2 separate regions of the Homo sapiens genome follow, and region 2 is linked to region 1. The links are contacts of gene promoters, found by promoter capture Hi-C in blood cells and fetal thymus (Javierre and others, 2016). All regions are on one chromosome and are shown on one strand. Each heading gives the region's core, a stretch centred on a gene start or on the middle of the fragment in contact. The rest is flanking DNA. Distances are from core to core; before and after follow the strand shown. Region 1 overlaps EXD1 (exonuclease 3'-5' domain containing 1). Region 2 holds the start of SPINT1 (serine peptidase inhibitor, Kunitz type 1).

Evidence for each region. The method cuts DNA at HindIII sites, captures the fragments that hold promoters and counts their contacts. A CHiCAGO score of 5 or more calls a contact.
Region 2: the fragment with the promoter of SPINT1 here is called in contact with a fragment that was not itself captured in region 1 in 3 of 17 cell types (total CD8 T cells, endothelial precursors and total CD4 T cells); the score reaches 6.2 in total CD8 T cells.

Annotation. Positions count from the first base shown.
Region 1 is chr15:41,211,510-41,216,354 of GRCh38, reverse strand. It overlaps EXD1 (exonuclease 3'-5' domain containing 1), which reads left to right. Exons shown (of 12, transcript NM_001286441.2): 6 at 522-580. Among named protein-coding and RNA genes, the nearest start is that of EXD1, 17 kb to the left of the region's middle. The HindIII fragment of the contact is 6,313 bases long and covers 1-4,845 here.
Region 2 is chr15:40,841,797-40,846,641 of GRCh38, reverse strand. It overlaps SPINT1 (serine peptidase inhibitor, Kunitz type 1), which reads right to left and starts at 2,594. Exons shown (of 11, transcript NM_003710.4): 1 at 2,456-2,594; 2 at 1,613-2,152. The coding sequence starts at 2,087. SPINT1-AS1 (SPINT1 antisense RNA 1) reads left to right here and starts at 2,118. Exons shown (of 2, transcript NR_146468.1): 1 at 2,118-2,463. RefSeq lists silencers at 1,913-2,152, 2,443-2,502, 2,583-2,812, 2,974-3,156 and an enhancer at 2,450-3,021. The HindIII fragment of the contact is 21,246 bases long and covers 1-4,845 here.

The sequences.
Region 1 (4,845 bases), core at 899-3,398:
CAGCCGAGGCTCTGAATTTTCTAGGCTCTCTCTCTCTTTTTTTTTTTTTTAACCAGGTCAGTCAAATTCAACTAGGCTCTCTTTACTGTTTAGAGTTGATGTAACCCTGAATCAAGATTCTCTATGGAATCCTAAGCTGAGCCATTGCTTCTGGGTTCTGAATTAAGATAAAATATTGTGATTCATTTGTTTATTTAATAACTGAGTACATACTGTGTGTGTACTCATAATTATTGGGGTACACTTATTCATTGGGGATTCTGAAATATGGTATCCCTCCCCTTACTGAGCAGCAAACAGATGCTAAATTAGATAAATAAGTAAAATATATACTGTAATAGTGCCAAATGCTAAGGAGGAAAAAAAAGGAAGAGAAGTAGTACGTAGGGAGGGTGGTTTTGCAATTTTAGGGTATTTGAGTTGCAATACAGTAGGAATATATGAGTGTGGCCAAAATTATTGAGAAAGCTATTCTGTTGCTGAGGAAGAGAAATATATCTAATGCAATCCTTGTCTTGTAGAGGAAGAGGAGGTGACATACACAGTCATTAATCAATTCCAGCAGAAGTTTGGTGCTGCGGTAAGTATTGTCCTCAATCATTACTAGTATTGCCTGTATGTAGGTATCATGTCTGTGTGTCATAAATTTCTTTCTTTCTTTTTTTTTTTGAGACGGAGTCTTGCTCTATCGCCCAGGTTGGAGTGCAGTGGACCAATCTTGGCTCACTGCAAGCTCCGCCTCCCAGGTTCACACCCTTCTCCTGCCTCAGCCTCCCGTGTAGCTGGGACTACAGGTGCCCGCCACCACGCCTGGCTAATTTTTTGTATTTTTAGTAAAGACAGTGTTTCACCGTGTTAGCCAGGATGGTCTCGATCTCCTGACCTCGTGATCCACCCGCCTCGGCCTCCCAAAGTGCTGGGATTACAGGCATGAGCCACCACGCTCGGCTGTAAATTTCTTTATTATAAGATTTTTGATTTTTTTTCCTATTAATTCAACAACATATTTGGTGGCTGCTATATGCCTATATGCCAGGCACTGTTCTGAGCTCTTGGGTAAAACCATAATCAAGACAAAGTTCCCGCCCTCAAGGAGCTTATATTCTAATGCAAGACAATAAACAAGTGCTTTTATTTTAGATGGCAGTAAGTGCTGGGAATAAAAATAAAGCATGGTATGGGGACTAGAGTGACAAGGAGGTCCTATTTTATGTGGGATAGACAGAGAAAACATCTCTAGGGAGGTGACATTAGAACAAAGACCTGAGTAAGTAAGGGAGCCATGTAGATATCAAAGTGGAGAACTTAAAGGCTGGGTGCAGTGGCTCACGCCTGTAATCCCAGCACTTTGGGAGGCTGAGGCGGGTGGATCACGAGGTCAGGAGATTGAGACCATCCTGGCTAACACGGTGAAAACCCGTCTCTACTAAAAATACAAAAAAATAGCCGGGCATGCTGGCAGGCGCCTGTAGTCCCAGCTACTCACCAGGCTGGGTCAGGAGAATGGTGTGAACTCGGGAGGCGGAGCTTGCAGTGAGCCGAGATCGTGCCACTGCACTCCAGCCTGGGTGACAGAGCGAGACTCCATCTCAAAAAAAAAAAAGTGAAGAACTTAAAAGTGGAATTAGCAAGTGCAAAGGCCCTGAGGCTGAAATATTCCTGGCTTGTGTGGAGGAACAGCAGGGAGGTCAGTGTGACAGGACCACAGTGAAGAAGAATGGTAGGAGATGGAAGGGGGCAGGAGGCAGTTCACTTAGGGCTTTCTAGACATTGTAAAGATTTTGAGTTTGACTTAAAGCCATTGGCAGTTTCAGAGAAGAGTCAGAATTTTTTTTTTTTTTTGAGATGGAGTCTCGCCTTGTGGCCCAGGCTGGAGTTCGGTGGGGTGATCTTGGCTCACCTCAACCTCCGCCTCCTGGGTTCAAGCGATTCTCCTGGCTCAGCCTCCTGAGTAGCTGGTATTACAGGCATGCACCACCACGCCAGCTAATTTTTGTATTTTTAGTAGTAGAGATGGGGTTTTGCCATGTTGGCCAGGCTGGTCTCAAACTCCTGACCTCAGGTGATCTGCCTATCTCCGCCTCCCAAAGTGCTGGGATTACAGGTGTAAGCCACTGTCCCTGGCCCATGGATGCATTTTTAAAAGGACAGTTAGCTATCAAAAGGTTTTTGTTTTGTTTTGTTTTGTTTTTGAGATGGAGTCTCTTTCGCCCAGGCTGGAGTGCAGTGGCACTATCTCGGCTCACTGCAAGCTCCACCTCCCGGGTTCACGCCATTCTCCTGCCTCAGCCTCCCGAGTAGCTGGGACTACAGGCGCCTGCCACTGCACCCGGCTAATTTTTTGTATTTTTAGTAGAGACGGGGTTTCACCGTGTTAGCCAGGATGGTCAACAACAGGTTGTTTTTTAAGTCTGAACTGAACAGAAGATTTTTATTAAAAAATAGCATTATTGAGATATAATCCACATGCCATACAATTTATTTAGTTAAAATGTACAGCTCATTTTCTTTTAGTGTAGTCACAGAGTTGTAAGTAAAGCAACATAATAAATTTTAGAATATTTTCAGTATACCAGAAAGAAACCCCACACCCCTTATCCATCACTCCTAATCACTCCTCAGCCCTTGGCAACCACTAAAACAGCCTGACCAACATGGCAAAACCCCATCTCTACTAAAAATACAAAAATTAGCCAGGTGTGGTGGTGGGCACTTGTAATCCCAGTTACTGGGGAGGCTGAGTGGGAGGAGGTGGAGGGTACAGTGAGCCGAGATCATGCCACTATACTCCAGCCTGGGAAAGAGTGAGACTCTGTCTCAAAAAACAACAAAACAAAACAAAACAAAACAAAAACTGGCTGGACACGGTGGCTCATGCCTGTAATCCCAGCACTTTGCGAGGCCGAGATGGGTGAATCACAAGGTCAGGAGTTTGAGACCAGCCCGACCAACATGGTGAACACCGTCTCTACTAAAAATACAAAAATTAGCTGGGTGTGGTGGTGCGTGTCTGTAATCCCAGCTACTCAGGAGGCTGAGGCAGGAGAATTGCTTGAACCCAGGAGGCAGAGGTTGCAGTGAGCCAAGATCGTGCCACTGCACTCCAGCCTGGGTGACAGAGTGAGACTCTATCTCAAAAAAAATAAAAATAAAAACAAGTAAATAAATAAAATAATAAAATATGTAGTTTTTTTGACAGGCTTTGTTTACTTAGCATAATGTTTTCAAGGTTCATCCACATTACAGCTTATATCAGTATTTCACTTATTTTTATTGCCAAATAATATTCCTTATAAATTAAAAAAAATTTTTTTGAGACGGGGTCTTGCTCTGTCACCCAGGTTGGAGTGCAGTGGCACAATCAGAGTTCACTGCAGCCTGGACCTCCTGGGCTCAAGCAATCCTCCCACCTTAGCCTCCCAAGTAGGTGGGACTACAGGCATGTGCCACAACACCTAGCTAATTCTTTTATATTTTTTGTAGAGACAACGTCTCGTTATGTTGCCTAAGCTGGTCTCAAACTACTGGGCTCAAGCAATCCACCTGCCTCGGCTTCCCAAAGTGCTGGGATTAGAGGTGTAAGCCACCACAGTCAGCCACCAAATCATATTCTATTGTATGGATATACTACATTTTATTTATCCATTCACCATTTGATGGACATTTGGGTTGTTTCTTCTTTGTGGTTATTGTGAATAATGCTACTATGAACATTCATGGACAAGTTTTTGTGTGGATGATTTTATTTCTCTTAGATAGTTACCTAGGAGTGAAATTGCTAGATCATATGGTAACTCTGTGTTTAACTTTTTTGAGGAACGGCCAGACTTTTTTCCAAAGCTGTTGCACTATTTTACATTTCTACCAGCAGTCTGTGAGGGTTCCAATTTCTTTTTTTTTGAGACGGAGTCTTGCTCTGTCGCCCAGGCTGGAGTGCAGTGGCACCATCTCGGCTCACTGCAAGCTCTGCCTCCCGGGTTCACACCATTCTCCTGCCTCAGCCTCCTGAGTAGCTGGGACTACAGGTGCCCGCCACCACGCCCGGCTTATTTTTTTTTTTTACATTTTTAGTAGAGACGGGGTTTCACCGTGTTAGCCAGGGTGTTCTCGATCTCCTTACCTCGTGATCTGCCCGCCTCAGCCTCCCAAAGTGCTGGGACTACAGGCGTGAGCCACTGTGCCCAGCCGTTCCAATTTCTTTAAATCCTTGCCAACACTTATCTGTAATTTTGAGTATAGCCATCCTAGTGGGTATGAAGTGGTATCTTATTGTGGTTTTGATTTGCATTTCTGTGATGGCTAATGATGTTGAATGTTTCCATGAGCTTACTAGCCGTTTGTATAACTTCTTTGGAGAAATGTCTATTTAGATCCTTTGCCTTTTATTTTTTGAGACAGAGTCTCGCTTAGTAGCCCAGGCTGGAGTGCAGTGGCATGATCTTGGCTCACTGCAACCTCCACCTCCTAGGATCTCTAGCAATCCTCCCACCTCAGCCTCCTGAGTAACTTGGACTATAGGTGTGTACCACCATGCCCAGCTCTTTTTTTTTTTTTTTTTTAAGAAATGAGGTCTTGTTGTGTTCCCCAAGCTGGTCTTGAACTCCTGGACTCAAGCAGTCTGTCTTCCTCGGCCTCCCAAAGTACTGGGATTACAGGCGTGAGCCACTGCGCCCAGCCTTAATTTTTGTATTTTGTGTAGAGACAATTTCTCACTATGTTGCCCTGGCTGGTCTCGAACTCCTGGGCTCAAGCAATCTGTCCTCCTCAGCCTCCTTCACTGCTAGGAATACAGGCATGAGCCACCCTGCCCAAACCTTTTGCTGTTTTTTAATTGAGTTGAAATAA
Region 2 (4,845 bases), core at 1,345-3,844, 370 kb after region 1:
ATCCCCGGTTCTGTTATCCACTGGGCTATTTTGGGTCAGAATGCTAGGTTTTTACCAGAGAGATGGTCTTGTGTGAAAAACAGCACAGGACTTTTTTTGGAGGTCTCCCCTGGGGTGAATCTCAGGCCTACCATTTATGGGCAGTGTTACCCTGGGCAAATTCTTTAACATGGGAGTCTTAGTTTCCTAATCTAAAAAGTGGGATGACTGCTAGTAGCACCCTTTTTGGAAGTTGTTGTGATGAGGCCTGAGTGAGAGGATGTGTGGCACAGCAATCAGTAAGCTGTAAAGTGCTCACAGAGGTTATGAGAGGTGACCTACCCCTGCCCTGGAGCCCCACCTGGCCAGAACAGCAGGTAGAGAGAAAGGGGGAACCAAGGCTCTGGACTGGCCCTGATCCCAGCAGACAGTTCAGTCCGGGGAAGAAAGAGGAGGAGCCCTGGCCTCCGCTTTGCCTTTATCTATGGAAGTAAACAAGGTTTGGCTACCAGATTCTAAGCAGGGAGAGCCCTGTCTGGCTCATGCGCATGCACACACACCTGCCTGGACAGCTGACATCCCTTCCCTACTAGGTATACATACCAACAGGCTGACTCACCCCACAACCCTCCTCATCCCCCACCCCAGAGCCTCTAGGCTTCTGTGCCTACAACATCACTTCTCTCCCTTTGGATCAACCGCAGACTGGGCTTGTTTTCTAGTCTCGGATCTGGCAGTCTTCCTGGACCACCAAAAGGCCAATGCATTCCTAGGGGGTAGAGAGATGCTAAGCAGTCCCAAGTCCAGCCAGTGGAGGAGACTATGGCCAGGCTCACCTGACAGGGCATCGGTGTGCCCAGACCAGTGCTTGGCCAAGGTGCCTTTCTAGTCACCAGACCATCCAGACAGCTCACTCCTTCAATCAGCCTATCAGTGCCAGAGGTCAGGAGTCCTGGGGACTTCCTCTCCCCTCCAGTACACACAGCCCAGAGCCAAAGGCCTCCCTGTGAGCACCAGCCCATCACCTCTGAACATCCTGAGTTCAGGAGCCAGAGCCTGGGCCCTGCCCTCCCTACTCATGTCCCCTTTCATTTGTTTACTGTTTGTACTGCCTACTACCGATGTGAAGGCGATCTGGCTGTGACATCTGTCACCCCATTGATCACCAGGCTTGATTCGGCTGTACTGCCTACTTCTAAGGAGGGCTTCAGGTAGAAATAATCCCAGCACTTTGGGAGGCCAAGGTGGGTGGATCACCTGAGTTCAGAAGTTCAAGACCAGCCTGGCCAACATAGTGAAACCCCGTCTGTACCAAAAAAAAAAAAAAAAAAAAAAAAAAAAAAATTAGCCGGGTCTGGTAGCGGGTGCCTGTAGTTCCAGCTACTCCGGAGGCTGAGACAGAAGAATCACTTGAACGTGGAAGACGGAGGTTGCAGTGAGCAACCAGAGATTGCGCCATTGCACTCCAGCCTGGGCGACAAGAGCGAGACTCCGTCGCAAAAAAAAAGAAAGAAAAAGAAAAAAAAAAGTGAACTCTCCTTAACTCCTCTCTGATGTTCGTCTCCCCTAGGACCCCATAACCAGTCCCTTTTTTGAGTCTCTCCAAACCCATCCATCTTGGCACCCTCCTCACCTCCAAAGCCCTGGGTCCGCAGCTGGCGGTAGGAGCGGTACACTTCCCTCGTGAGGTAGTTGATGAAGCCCTCCCTGGGCGCGAACTTGCACACGAAGTTCTGCTCGTAGAGGCAGTTGATGAGGAAGCAGGCGGCGATGGCGTCCTCCCCGCGGTCGGGCTGCAGCTCCACTAGCGCCAAGTTGCAGTTCTGGGTGGTGCAGCAGGCGCGCACGCAGTCCCAGCCCCGGCGCACGGTGGGGGACTCCAGGAAGGTAGCTCCGTTGCTGACCGAGGCGTTGGTGTCCAGCACGAAGCCAGGCACCCCGGCGGTAAAGCTGTTCAGGCAGTCGGCTCCCGCGGGCAGCCCAGGGGGCGCGGGCGGTGGCCCGGCCTGGGTGCCCTGGAGGCCGAGCGTGCACAGAAGCCACAAGGCGACGGCAGGGATGCCGGCCGGGGCGAGGCGGGCGCGGGCCATCGTCCTCGCAGGGGCCATCGCCTTCCTCCCCAGGGGGGTCACCTTCAGAGCGCGGGCCTCTGGGTTCCGAGGGTGCTGGTGACCTGAGAAGAAGGGAGGGGACAGAGGAGGAGACACACCTGATCAGCCCGGGAGACTTTGGAGGAGGCGGGCCGGCCGGGAGGAAGTGGCGGGGAGGAGGGACCGGAGCACCCCAGGATCGAAGAGGGCGCACGGGCCCGGCCCTCCCACGCGCCCTCCAGGGACCCGGCAGCCAGACAGACGGACAGGCGGACCGCTAGGGAGCTCAAGTACCCGGACACACGCACGAGCGCAGAACAAAGGGCCGGACATGCTCCAGCCCGCTCCGCCTGCGCCTCGGCCTTGCGCGCGGGGGCCCGGGTTACCTGCGCAGGTGAGTTGGGTGGGGCCGGGTCCGCCGAGGTTCCGGTCCCAGCTTCCTGCGCGGCTCGGGTCGCGGCTTCCGACCCGGTGCTCGGAGAGCTGGGGCTCGGCCGCCTTCTCCCCCTGGTTTCTGGTGAAACTGAGTCAGCGCCGTCGGGGCGGGGCCGACATTCACCCTTGCGCTGCCGGCCCCGCCCACGCCCGGTGCGCTGCGGCCGCCTCTAGCGCGGAGCTCCAGGCCCGGCCCGCCCCGCGGCCCCGCAGCCCCGGTGCCTCCCCGGCAGCCAGCTCCCCGGAGGGGCTCTCGGGCTCCACCCAGTCCAGCCTCGCGAGGGAGCCCCGCGCCCGAAGCGCATACCCAGCCGGGAGGGGATGCGGCCGGGACGCGAGGGTCCGGCCTCTGGGGCGGCGGCCTCCAGTCTTCCTTTCCGGCCGGGGCCTGCTTTCCCAGCCCCAGACCTGAGGCCCGATGCAAATGATCTTTCCGGCCCTCAGGAAATCATTTCCATTTCGTGGCGGGAAGGTAACCCAAAAGTTGCGTGGCTGCACCTGTGATAACAGGGATCCGGGATGTCTGCCTCACTGTCAGCTCCGGGAAGCCCTCCCTGCTGTCAGGGTGAGAAACGGAGGCGATTCCCCGCGTCCAGGCTCCCCTGCGTGCTCCACGGGGCTTCCCTGTTGTTCGAGGCCCCTCCTCATCTTGTATGTACAGTTCGGTCCATTCCCTGCTATGGCTCATTGGACTGTTGCCCCCTTCCCTGGAGCCCAGGCTTCCTCTCTTTCACAAAGGGGACGCTGCTGGCTACTTTCTTCCAGGGAAATGTCATCCTTGGAAGCCTGGAGGTTCCAGTTCACCAAGTAGCTGAGTTAATGCCCTTCACGAAACAGTGGACTCCTTGAAGCCAAGCTCATTGCTCCTCCTGAGTAAAAAACTCTTAAGAGACCATTCTCTACGGCAAGGGTCTGAACAGGTGAAAGACAGATGAAGGCAGGGCTGGAGGAAGGAATCACATAGCATGCTCTCTTAAAATACAGATTCCAAACCTTTTCCTGATGGCTTAACAACCCCCAAACCAATGGGAACATTCTTCCCAGTTTCTCATCCAGAGCAGCTTTGCCTAGCAGATCCTGTGGCCAACCCTTGGATTTTGCTGAACTGCAACATCCTCCAGCTGCTCACATGATGCGTGTTGGGGTGGGAATCTGGGGCCTGTCTCCCCTTCTCTGGATGTTTAGGGTTTATCCACAGACCCTGGCACACTGGTGGATATACAACAATGGTGGTATGCTGGGAATGAAGAAAATGATTGTGCAGTCACTGGGAAGAAAGGGTTTTGTTGTGATTTGATTTCCCCTTATGGCTAACACATTCAAGAATCTTTATTTATTTATTTATTTATTTTTTTTTTTTTTTTTTTGAGACGGAGTCTTGCTCTGTCACCCAGGCTGGAGTGCAATGGCACGATCTCGGCTCACTGCAACCTCTGCCTTCCAGATTCAGGAAATTCTGCCTCAGCCTCCCAAGTAGCTGGGCTTACAGGTGGGCACCACCACGCCGAGCTAATTTTTGTATTTTTAGTAGAAACGAGGTTTCACCTTTTTGGCCAGGCTGGTCTTGAACTCCTGACCTCAGGTGATCCACCCACCTCGGCCTCCCAAAGTGCTAGGATTATAGGCGTGAGCCACTGTGCCTGACCTCAAGAATCTTAATACAGGAAAATATTACCTTATGGTAATATTACATCACCATAAATTTATCATTACATCCATTATACACACCATTATAAAAACCAACATGAATTCAGCACTGACAATGCCCAAACTCTGTTCCTAAGCACTGCCCACATATTACCCTATACTCAAAACAAACCTAGGGAGGTAGTATTTTTAGCCCCATTTTACAAATGAGCAAACAGGCTCAGACAGGTAAACTGACTTGTCAGGTCATTCAGCATTGAAGCGGCAGAGTAGGGATTGGAGCCCAGGCAGGCCAATTCCATGGCTTCAGTGCTTAAACCCTGGGCTTTATGGCCTTTGCAATTCTGACTTCATCTGGAAGTTCTGCCCTCACCTCAGATTCAACTTGCTTAAACCCATAACTCACTTTCAAGTGGTGAGCACCCACCATTTGTTGAGATGCCCACTGTGTTCCCTCCAGGCACTTGACATAGGATTGCTAATGCTCAGGACAACTCTAAAAATTGCTTCCACTTTGCAGAAAGGTTCACTGACTCCATCAAGGTCAGGTAGTGAACGAAGAGTGGTGACAGGTTGTAGAGAAGTTGAACTTGTGAGCTTCAGACTCAGACTACTGGATTTAGCTCTTGCATCTGCCACTTACTATTCGTGTGGCCTTGTGCAAGTTATTTGATCTCTCTGCCTTAGTCTCCTT